3 separate regions of the Homo sapiens genome follow, and regions 1 and 3 are each linked to region 2. The links are contacts of gene promoters, found by promoter capture Hi-C in blood cells and fetal thymus (Javierre and others, 2016). All regions are on one chromosome and are shown on one strand. The core of a region is centred on a gene start or on the middle of the fragment in contact, and the rest is flanking DNA. Distances in the headings are between cores, read along the strand shown. Region 1 overlaps RALGPS2 (Ral GEF with PH domain and SH3 binding motif 2). Region 2 holds the start of ANGPTL1 (angiopoietin like 1). Region 3 overlaps RALGPS2 (Ral GEF with PH domain and SH3 binding motif 2).

The links. Contacts are between HindIII fragments. The CHiCAGO score rates a contact against its expected background, and 5 or more counts as called.
Region 1: a contact is called between a fragment that was not itself captured here and the fragment with the promoter of ANGPTL1 in region 2, in 1 of 17 cell types (total B cells). The highest score is 5.7, in total B cells.
Region 3: a contact is called between a fragment that was not itself captured here and the fragment with the promoter of ANGPTL1 in region 2, in 1 of 17 cell types (total B cells). The highest score is 5.5, in total B cells.

The regions. Positions count from the first base shown.
Region 1 is chr1:178,905,026-178,909,219 of GRCh38, reverse strand. RALGPS2 (Ral GEF with PH domain and SH3 binding motif 2) reads right to left here. Exons shown (of 20, transcript NM_152663.5): 19 at 2,353-2,444. Among named protein-coding and RNA genes, the nearest start is that of ANGPTL1, 36 kb to the right of the region's middle. The HindIII fragment of the contact is 482 bases long and covers 1,455-1,936 here.
Region 2 is chr1:178,869,629-178,873,547 of GRCh38, reverse strand. It overlaps ANGPTL1 (angiopoietin like 1), which reads left to right and starts at 2,471. Exons shown (of 6, transcript NM_004673.4): 1 at 2,471-2,807. All of the region lies in intron 8 of RALGPS2 (Ral GEF with PH domain and SH3 binding motif 2), which reads right to left. The HindIII fragment of the contact is 10,209 bases long and covers 64-3,919 here.
Region 3 is chr1:178,828,809-178,832,616 of GRCh38, reverse strand. All of the region lies in intron 7 of RALGPS2 (Ral GEF with PH domain and SH3 binding motif 2), which reads right to left. Among named protein-coding and RNA genes, the nearest start is that of ANGPTL1, 40 kb to the left of the region's middle. The HindIII fragment of the contact is 990 bases long and covers 1,606-2,595 here.

The DNA.
Region 1 (4,194 bases), core at 446-2,945, 36 kb before region 2:
TCACACCTACTACCATCTGATCTTTGACAAAGCTGACAAAAACAAGCAATGGGGAAAAGGCTCCCTATTCAATATGCTGCTAGGATAACTGGATAGCCATATACAGAAGATTAAAACTGGACCCCTTCCTTACACTGTATACAAAAATCAACTCAAGATGGATTAAAGACTTAAATGCAAAACCTAAAACTATAAAAACCCTGAAAGATAACCTAGGATATACCATTCTGGACACAGGCCCTGGCAAAGACTTCATGATGAAGACTCCAAAAGCAGTTGCAACAAAAACAAAAACTGACAAACAGGACCTAATTAGAGAGCTTCTGCAGAGCAAAAGAAACTATCAGCAGAATAAACCAACATTCCTAGAGAATGGGAGAAAATATTTTCAAACTGTGTATCTGAAAAAGGTCTAATATCTAGAATCTATAAGAAACTTAAATTTACAGGCAAAAAACAACCCCATTAAAAAGTGGGCAAAGGACATGAACAGACACTTCTCAAGAGAAGAAATACACATGGCCAACAAGCATTTGAAAAACGGCCAATATCACTAATTGCCAGAGAAATGCAAATCAAAATTGCAATGAGATACCATCTCACACCAGTCAGAATGGCTAAGTCAAAAAATAACAGATGTTGGCAAGGTTGCAGAGAAAAGGGAATGCTTATACACTTGGTAGGAATGTAAGTTCAGCCACTGTGGAAAGCAGCTTGGAGATTTCTCAAAGATCTTGAAACAGAACTACCACTGAACCCAGCAATCCCATTACTGAGCATATACCCAAAGGAAAATAAATTGTTCTACCAAAAAGACACATGTATGTTCATCCCAGCAGTATACACTATAGCAAAGACATGGAATCAACCTACGTGCCTGTCAACAGTGGATTGGATAAAGAAAATGTGGTACATATATGCTATGGAATACTACACAGTGATTTTTAAAAAACAGTGAAATTATGCCCTTGGCAGCAACATGAATGCAGCTGGAGACCATTAAGTGAATTAATCCAGGAACAGAAAACCAAATACTGCATGTTCTCACTTGTAAGTGGGAGGTAAACATTGAATACACCTAGACACAAAGATGGGAACAATCGACACTGAGCATTACCAGAGTGGGGAGGGTGGGAGAGGGGTGACGGTTGAAAAACCAGTGGGTACTCTGCTCACTAACTGGGTGACAGGATCATTTATACACCAAACCTCAGTGACACACAATATACCCATGTAACAAACCTGCACAAGTACCCTCTGAACCCAAAAGTCAAAAAACAAACAAAAAGAATGGACTTAAAGGATGAAGAAAGTTTGAATCCACCATTTTTTACTTGTGTGACCTGTGTAGGTCATTTTGTATTATGGAGCCTTAGTTTCAATTATCAAGAAAGGGTAATAACTTACATCCTGATATGACAGGGTGAAAAATACTTCTGTAAGCTTTCTAAGCTTATATAGTGCATCATATTCAATATTACCTACTGATAATGCTAACCATAGACTTCTGCATTATCAATATGCTAAGTCAATGATTTTCAAATATATTTAACAAACAACTGGTTCTACAAAAAGTCTATATAAATTTCTATAAATGTGGCTATGTGTTTTATGTCTGCTCTACCAATCTGTGGTTCAACTCTAACTGTGCAACAGGGTTTGGGGAAAACAACACAATGGATTCCTGCTCTTCTGCAGCTGAAAGCCTTTCAATTAGACCATTTTTGTTTCAGTAAAATAAAAGCAAACAAAATTTAAATGGTTTTTGGTTTCACTACCACCACAGAAACCCACATCAAATTGTCAATAGATCAAATAAAGATGAATTCGAATAATTTTTATTAATTTAATATGCCATCTAATTTTTACCCTTTAGAGAACTATACTCTGACTACTATACTAGCTACCTTTCTGTGCTTTGAACTCACCTTAAGCTTGTTCCAGCTTCAGGCTCCCTGCACTTGCTCTTCCCTTACACAGCACTCTGCTCTCCTCTTCTTATAGCTCGTTCCTTCTTGTGGTTCTTGTCAATACCATCTCCTCAGGGAGATCTTTGCTGCCCAACCTTATGTTATCAAAAGTTGTCTGTACTCCCATTGCTCTATATCACATACGTCTATTGTTTTCTTTATATAGTTCTGACTGTTCGAAATTTTGTTACTTGTTTGCATGATTACTGTCTAGCTCCTCACTAAGATGTAGACCTTCATATCTTATTAACTGTAATCAACAAGAATAAAAACACCACCATTCTCCTAGTTAATTCAGAACTAGTCTGTTTACTTCTCTTGGAACTCTTTTACATATGTTCCCAAATTATGGACTATTCTGAGAATTAGGAGAAATGCTTACCTGTTGTTTGTTACTTTGGCAGGCTGCACTCAAATGCTTAAACCATAACATTGCATTCATTCTATTGCCAGCTTGAAACTTGTACGAATTTCCTAAAATTATCCAAAATAAGGGGGAAATATTAAAAATGTAAGGACGACACATAATAATTCTGCCAGATAATAATGAGCAAATTAAACATGACTAGAGTTTTCAGTTTTAGAATTCTATTCAACACCTCCATTTTATTGTATTTCCTATTTTTATTGTATTTCCAATACAATAAAGAGTTCTCGATGCAACACATTTACATGCTATCATATATTCAGAAAGTCACTTTTGCTGCTTATGAATTAGAAGAAATAATTTTGTCTCCTTAAATATTCTTTAGAATGAAATACACCTACATAAAATAACTGTGTGGCATCTCTAGATCTGTGTGGATAAGACTGCAGAATATTGGTTCTGAATACTTACTACTTAGATGATCTAAATATTAGATTTTTTTTTTTTTGAGATGGAGTCTCGCTCTGTCGCCCAGGCTGGAGTGCAGTGGCACAATCTCAGCTCATTGCAACCTCTGCCTCCCAGCTTTATGAGATTCTCGTGTCTCGGCCTCCCAATAAGCTGGGATTACAGGTGTGCACCACCATGCCCAGCTAAGTTTTTTGTATTTTTAGTAGAGACGGGGTTTCACCATGTTGGCTAGGCTGGTCTCGAACTCCTGACCTCAAGTGATGTGCCTGCCTTGGCTTCCCAAAGTGCTGGGATTGCAGGCATGAGCCCCCACACCTGGCCTAAATATTAGTAGATGTTAATGTTAAGTTTTAACATGCCAGAATGCTTCAATATGTTTAATACTTAAACACTAGCTATTCAGTATAATTAAGGATTAGTCATATAACATTGATAGACTATGCTTTTAGTCTTTAGTTACAAGATATTTGTCAATATTATTACAGATTTCCAGTTCTGTTGAGGGCTCTTGGGGAAAGTCTAGGAGGCAACTTTCTCTCTTTTAAGAAATTAGATATTCATTTGTGCTGTGTGTATTTTGTAATTTCTATATTGACTTTAATTCAAGACTGACATATAATGAGGATATTTTAAATGGTTATATGTATTAAGGTGAGAAAACAAATTGAGAAAAGAAAGGATCCATGTACTATAGGCTGCTCTAAATTAAGCTTTATTTCCTTTTTTCATTGACCTAAGTTCTTTTTATTTCACAATTTGTGCTGAATTCTATTCTTTCCTTAATAACTGCATTCAATGGCTCAAGAGCCTAACTATATTTAAGCATTATTCAGCTTTTCCTTGAGATTCTAACACTCAAAATAACTTTTTCACTTTCTGAAGTAATTGTTTCTTCACCAAATGTTTAGTCAAGTAACACCGTTACACTTGCTGAACTCAGACACAGACATTAGGTCAATGTGAAAAAAAGCCATATCTACAATAAAGCTGGCCACAGCTACAATTTACATACTCACCCCTCCCCCGCAAAAAACCATTAGTATAGATAGACTTCATAAAATTTTGGCTACCTGAAGTAGTTCTATTAGGCATGCTAAGAGAAACTGAAGAAAACAAAGAATCTGTTAACTAAATCCAATGAAAATGCTCTCATCTTGAAATGTAATTTCGTGAATTATGCCTTTGATATGGGAAGGAGGCTGGGGCTTTGAATTCAAAATTTTGAGTAGGCTTCTATACACCAACAATGACCAAACAGAGAATCAAATCAAGAATTCAACGCCTTTTATAATAGCTGCAAAACAAAACAAAACAAAAAACCACTTAGGAATATACCTAACAAAGGAGTCGAAAGAGCTCTACAAGGAAACTACAAAACACTGCTGA
Region 2 (3,919 bases), core at 1,222-3,721:
GATGGTGTCACATTATTTTTCAAAGCTGTATCAATTCATACTCCCACTCACGGTATATAAGCTTCTGTTGATCCACATTTGTGCTAACAATTGGTATTATCCATCTCAATTTTGCCAATCTTCTGAGTATAAAATGGTATCTCTCTGTGTCTTAATTTTTATTTCCTTGATTAGTAATAAGGTTAAACGTATATATTTCTATGTAATAAATGTTTCTGTTCATTTTTTCTTTTGGGTTGTCTTTTTCTTATGGATTTCTAATTTCTTAATGTATTGTGGACACTAATTTGTCAGTTAAATTTTATCTAGTCACCCTTCAACACACTAAATAATCTGAAATCTGTATGTATCACTTATTTTGGCAATGGCATTAATAACTTTCTCATTCTAAGTCTTAAAACATCTCTCTTGGTCTCCCCTCCCTATGTAATGTCTCTGCAGTATTGTAACCATTCTCGTCTAGTTCTCAGGTTTTCCCTACCTTGAACTTTCGTATCTTCCCCCTAAGCCCCCACCATTCTTCTTTTTCCTCATGTTTCTTGTAAGCTGGTTTCCTGGAAATTGGTATCATGGTCTGTCATTAACCTTCCTTTACATTCTACATGTACTTTCTCTAGTATCTTAGTTCCATAGCTTTAGCTACTACCTAATTGCTGGTGACTTTCAAATCTCTCCATATAACTGAGCTCCTGACTTTCATTTTCAATTTAACATATCTAACCATAATCTGTCCCTAAATACCTGTCATTCCAATTTCCTACCCTGGCTAGTGATATTACTAAGTGCTCAAGTTAGAAAGCTCCAAACTGCTGAAAGTTTAAAAGCTCAGAAAGAATTTATTATCTCTTATTTTTCCCAGATTTAAGCCATTAGTGACTACAACATAATTACTGAATGCTCAAGAAACGATACATAATACAAATCAGAGGCCAGAAGCTGGCAGCACATCTGTCCCAATGTTTTTTAAAATCAGGAAGTATTACAGGAAAAATCTAAATGGCTCTTTTTTCCTGAATAATGGGAAGATCTGGCAACACTGTCTCATAATCCTTCATGGCCACAAGCACAGCTGAGAAGGTGCAGGCAGATCCCTTTAAATTAACCAAAAGGATGCCAACTTGCCATAAACTTCATTTCCCTCCAGTATCTTACTACTGATTTACTTCACTGATTTATATTACCTGCTCCATTCTTCTTGTGAGCATTTGCCTTTCTAGGCCCTTGTGTTTGCAACCTCTGGTATACCTATATATGGCATAGGAATTCAAATAAATGATTCTGTGAAAGAGGTAGAAAATAAGCTCAGACTTTAAATAAAGGATGTGGATCAACAGTGTGGCCTAACAGAAAGAGAAACACAGCACAAGCTACAGCAATAAGGAAGGGAAAGCACAGGTATGTAGAGAAAGCCCAAAAGTTTTATCTAGAAGCAGCTTACAGCAACTAGGTAATCAATGACAGAGAGTGTGGCATAATGCTTTGGCATTAGATTCAAATCCCAGTTCCACTACTTAGTACTTAAGTGCTAAGCTAAGTTACTTAAGCCTAAGTTTGTGTTTCTTCAGCTACTGAGTTATTTAACATTTCTTCAATTAATGAAATACAATAGTATAGTTGTACTCAACACTTATTCATTTCTTCCACCACCTTATTTCATAGCAGAAGAACCTTGCCAGAGGCAGGTAAAGTGATTTGTCTAAGTTCACATAGCTGGCATAGAGTCAGAGCTTCCTTGTTTTTTACTCAGTTCAGGGTTATGTTTGTTTTTAAACCACACCACATCAATTAATAACAAGAATGACCTTTTACAGAGAGGAGAGGTCATTTTGTAGAATAGGAGGATATGACATTATGTAACACCAGAATGTAATATTTAAAAGTCTTAAGCATCTGAAAGAATTTCACTTATGTTTGGTAATTATATATAAAGGCTGTTTTATCTTAAGACACATTACACAGTAAGACATAACATACTACAACAACATCAAGTTTCTTGTAAGTTTAAAACCTTCATTAGCAACTTAGTAAAATGTTTACAAATTCTTCTAGGCTATAAAGAGTATTTATTACATTATTTAGGTGGCTGCCTCCTGACAAAGTCTAGCTCTTGTTCTTTGTTAACAAAAACCAAACTCATCAGCCTGCAACTACTTCTAAGTGAAGTGGAGCACTATTTTTTTTTTCGGTATTCAACTTAAAAGATCTCTGGCCAGCAGACTAAAATGTTTGTTTTATAATTGCCCGCTGAACTATGATAGTTTGTTTCCAGATGGTGCCCTTCCTTCAACCTGCACACAATCTCTCCTTGTTCAAAACTATTCAACCTCCTGCTGATCCCACCCCCCTATTTAAGGCTACAAAGAGGAAATCCTAAGGAGATTCCCGCCCCCAGTCTCCAGCAATTTTTGGTGATGTAATATGTGGGCTGAACTTGAGTCTACTGAGAAAGAGGGAATCACTATTCAGGGGTACTGTATATACAATCTGGGTCAGCTGCAGCTGGTTACTGCATTTCTCCATGTGGCAGACAGAGCAAAGCCACAACGCTTTCTCTGCTGGATTAAAGACGGCCCACAGACCAGAACTTCCACTATACTACTTAAAATTACATAGGTGGCTTGTCAAATTCAATTGATTAGTATTGTAAAAGGAAAAAGAAGTTCCTTCTTACAGCTTGGATTCAACGGTCCAAAACAAAAATGCAGCTGCCATTAAAGTCACAGATGAACAAACTTCTACACTGATTTTTAAAATCAAGAATAAGGGCAGCAAGTTTCTGGATTCACTGAATCAACAGACACAAAAAGGTATTTAATATTTCTTTTATTTAAAAATATTATGTATAGCAAATGCATAACTATTTTATATTTGTAGTAGAAATTTCAGAATCTTTTACTAAACAAAGACCTTTGGAATATACTACAGTTTATCTCATCTGAAAAAGGTTTTATCTTGCAACTTGACATAAAAACATTAAGTACTGTGCAATGGTTAATGCATTATTTGAGGTTCAATTTAATGATGTTTAGTGTATATGATTACAGACTGATACATGCATGCCATGCTGGGTTTCTGAAAACAAGTGCTTTAGTGACAGTAGAAAGAAATTTTAACAAGTAACAGATTAAATGTATAAGGCTTACAGCACAATGATTAAAAACAAAGGAATACAAACTAAATAGTCGTGAACACAATTAGTTTCTCTTCCTGCAGCCACAGTGTGTGTGCTGAAGATATACATAAACTGTTGGATTTCTCAGTGTAGTCATAAAACAAAGCTAAGATACAAAAATAGTTGAAAGTCTTTGCAACAAAATCTCAATTACAGTATAACCAAATATTAAGCAGAAATTCTTGTACAGATTTAAGATTAATCTATGGCATTTCTTGTTCCAACTCAAAATTTTAAATAGCTTTCCAGGCTTACATGTAATAGTAATTTAATTTGGATGACAGAAATTAAACTTGCTACAAATGGAATCACTTGGAAAAGCTAAGTTATTGATATACACACAAAAGCATTATGTAAGTGGTATTAACAATAGAAAATAAGAACCCAGAAGATGTAATTAAATTCATGACTAAAAGGCCAAAAATATGTAATATTTTAGGTAGAAATAATTTTGTTAAGCACACATAAGAGGTTTCCTTCAATATTCTATCTGGGAGCTTTTTTTACATGCATTATAAAAACTATTAAAGATAAAATTACTCGTTACCAATAGTATGCCTTAAACCAAAGACACTTAAGTTTGTTAGATTTGGGGCTCCTTTAGCCTTGTAAAAATTAAAGATATTAATGGTTAAGAATCTTGAACAAGCAAATAATGGTAAAGCTAAAATTTTTTCCAACTTTGCTTTTGTGTCCTTTCCTTAAAGATTTAAAACTGTAAATGCTGGCAGGATTTCTGTTAAACAC
Region 3 (3,808 bases), core at 851-3,350, 41 kb after region 2:
TACAGCATGCAAAACATTTCCACCTATGTAAGTCTCACCTAATTTTCCTATGAGATTAACAAAAAAGTATGAGTATTAATTTAGAGATGAAGAGACTGAGATCACAAGGTTAGCAAGCAGCAGAATATAATACTCTCTGTTACCCACTCACTCACAAAGATGTATGTCCTTGTTTTTCAGGATCTTATAGTCTGGTTCTGGAGATAAGAATATTCTGACACCTAATCCACTACTCTTTCTAGTATTATAAGTAGTACAGTTGGGATCTATTGTTCAGAGGCTCAAAGATGCAGACTATCTTCAGAAAATCTCTATTAGAAAAATGTCTCAACAGTATCGCTCCCTCTTTAAAATACAACGTCAAGGGGTCCTTTGCTTTAATGTTTTAGATGGATATTCCATGGTCTAAAACAGCGGTTTTACAATTTTCTCTTACTCCACTTTCAAGATACTTGATTAGTAATCTCAAGATTAGGTGCAAATGTTTGCTTGCTGCCTGTATATCTAACTCTTTACCACTTAAGGAAGTATCTGGATATGCAAAATATAGTTATGTGACATAGGGATAATGATAAACCTGCTCTTTATTTTCCCCTAAGTCAATCATTCAAAAACTTTGGTACAATACCAGGAGAAACAAATTACTTAGAACTCGTAACTAATCTTGCCACAGCTGAAACACAGAACTGTTATAACAAACTATAACATGATTTTGTAATTTTCATAATAAATCAATAATCAGATAAATAGAATTCAATCTGAGTTGTGGTAGGAGAGACTTGTTTCCAGAAGACTAGAGGAAGAATATGAATATAAAGAACTAATTAGATGTTAATATAGGTATTTCCTGAATGATAGCTCAGAAGCTCTATTAACTGAGAAGCCTTTTCTTTCTTCTTTTCAAATCTTCTTTTGATATTTATAATGTTATATTTAAAAAGTCTCTTTACTGTATTTTCCCCTCCAAAAACCGCTGGGGGTGGGGGGGGCGGGGCGGACAAAATACTTCACAGTGTTCTACTTCTACATGTCCTTGGCACCAAGAGCATGACAAATGGGGGCAAGCCTCTTCACACTTTCATTGATATTAATGAAAGAGGAGACCCACAGAATTCTAGATGTTCCTGACCAGATATCTAACACCACCTTACCACCACAATCTGTTTTGGGGGAAAACCTAGATGAATGCCCGCTCATGTCAGTCACCCCAGGAAACACAAACTCCCAGATTATTCCTCATCACCTTGGTTTGTATCTTCACACAATATGTGTGAATGTGTGCAACTGCATAAATGAATACTTTATCTTAGACCCGGGGTGCAGATTAATTATAATCTTTTGTTTGTGACACTCAATTATCATTAGAGCCTGGTATGGCTTTGTTAAATGGATTTAAACTTTATAACGAACACACATGACTCATCTTCCATCCAATTGCCTTGACTGCCTTTAAGAGGTAACCAGTAACCACTACTCTGAATGTTCTGTTTATCATTCCCCTCAAATTTTATTTCATTTTTGGCAAATTTTATTCCATTTTAACTTTTATTTCATTTTTAGTCTTTGGCAATTACTTTGTTCATATAACATTGTGATATTAAAGCTTCATCCATGAAGTTGTGGGAAGCTATAGTTCATTCATTTTCACTGCTTCTATGTGTATCCTCTCCTCTACAAAATACATTTATAATGTTAATTTTTCTATTTTTTTTCTTTTTTCGTTGTTAAGAGTTCTGGATGCAAATTCTTGTGTTGGACACATTCTAGTTGGACAACTAACTGTTGCACATATCTTCCGCCCACTGCATCCTCTTTTCCATTTTAAGGTATCTTTTGATGAACAGAAATTCTTACTCTAACATGACAAAATTTATTATTATTTTTTTCATTGTTGGAGCTTTCTGTATCTTATCTAAAAAATCCTTACTTATCCAAAGCCAGAAATCTATTCATGCCAAACCAGAGAGATATTCACATATATTTTTCCTTCTAAAAAACTGAAGTTTTTCATTTCACATTTAAGCCCTTGAGTCATCTCACAAGGATTTTTGTGAATGGCGCAAGGGGCCTGATTTCATTTTTTCCCCCAAACTGGTGACCAATTTTGCAGCTCCAATTAATAAACAGCCCCTCATTTCTTTACCAACTTACAATGCCACCTCTGTCATACACGTATCAGAATCCTGTAAAAACAAGGAGGTATTTCTGGGTTCTTCATTCTGTTTCATTGGTAGATATGTCTAAAACTGCAGGAATCATACACTGTCCAAGAATCTAGTATATCCTGACATCTGTTAGGCCAAGTGCTTATCTCCCCAATTCCCATTGTCTTCTTTAGCTATTCCTGAACCTTTAAATTTCCATATAAATTTTACAATCAATCTTCCACCAGCAGTACTGGGGTATAACTGACAAATTTAAATTGCATATACTTGAGGTGTACATGTTTTAATACACATATATAATGAAATTATTATCAAGCTATCAAGCTAATTAACATATCCATCATCTCACAAAGTTAGTTACTTCTTATGTATTTGTATGGTAAGAACATTTAAGATTCACTCTTTTAGGCTGGACACGGTGGCTCAAGCTTGTAATCCTAGCACTTTGGGAGGCCAAGGCAGGCAGATCACTTGAGGTCAGGAGTTCGAGACCAGCCTGGCCAACAAGGCAAAACGCCATCTCTACTAAAAATATAAAAATTAGCTGGGCAAAATGGTGGGCGCCTGTAATCCCAGCTACTCAGGAGGCTGAGGCAGGAGAATCACTTGAGCCTGGGAAGTGGAGATTGCAGTGAGCCAAGATTGTGCCACTGCGCTACAGCCTGGGTGATAGAGCGAGACTCCATCTCAAAAAAAATAAAAATAAATAAATAATAAATAAAATTTAAAAAGATCCACTCTCTCAGAAAAGTTCAAGTATACAACATAGTCTTATTAACTATAGTCAACTATAGTCCTCATGCTGTACATTAGATCTCCAGAACTTATTCTCTCTCCATTAGTGGTCCCTAACCTTTTTGGCACCAGCGACAATTTTTCCATGAACATGAATGGGGAAAGGTTTTGGGATGAAACTGTTCCACCTCAGATCATCAGGCATTAGATTCTCATAAGGAGCACACAACCTAGATCCTTCACATGCGGAGTTCACAATAGGGTTCATGTACCTATGAGAATCTAATGCTGCCACTGATTTGACAGGAGATGGACCTCATGCCGTAATGCTCACTTGCCTGCTGCCCACCTCCTGCTGTGGCCTGGTTCCTAACAGGCCATGGACCAGCACTGGTCAGCAGCCCGGGGTTTGGGGACCCCTGTTCTACATAACTGAAACTTTGTACCTACTGACCCAACATTTCCCCTGCCCCTCAGCAACCATCCTTCTACTTTTTGCTTCTATGAGTTCAGCCTGGTAAGATTTCACAGATAAGTGAAATTGTGCAGTAGCATTTGTCTTTCTGTATCTAGCTTATTTCACTGAGGATAATGATCTCCAAATTCATCCATGCTGTTGTAAATGTAAGGCTGAATAGTATTCCATTGTGTATATAAACCACATTTTCTTTATCCATTCATCTGCTGATGGACATTTAGGTTGGTTCCATATCCTGGCTATTGTGAATAATGCTGCAACGAACATAGGAGTGCAGATATCTCTTTGACATATCAATTTCAATTTCTCTGGACACATACTCAGAAATGGGATTGCTGGATCACATAATTGTTCTATTATTATTTTTGGGGGAATCTCCATACTGTTTTCCATGACTGTACCAATTTACATTCCCACCAACACTGTACAA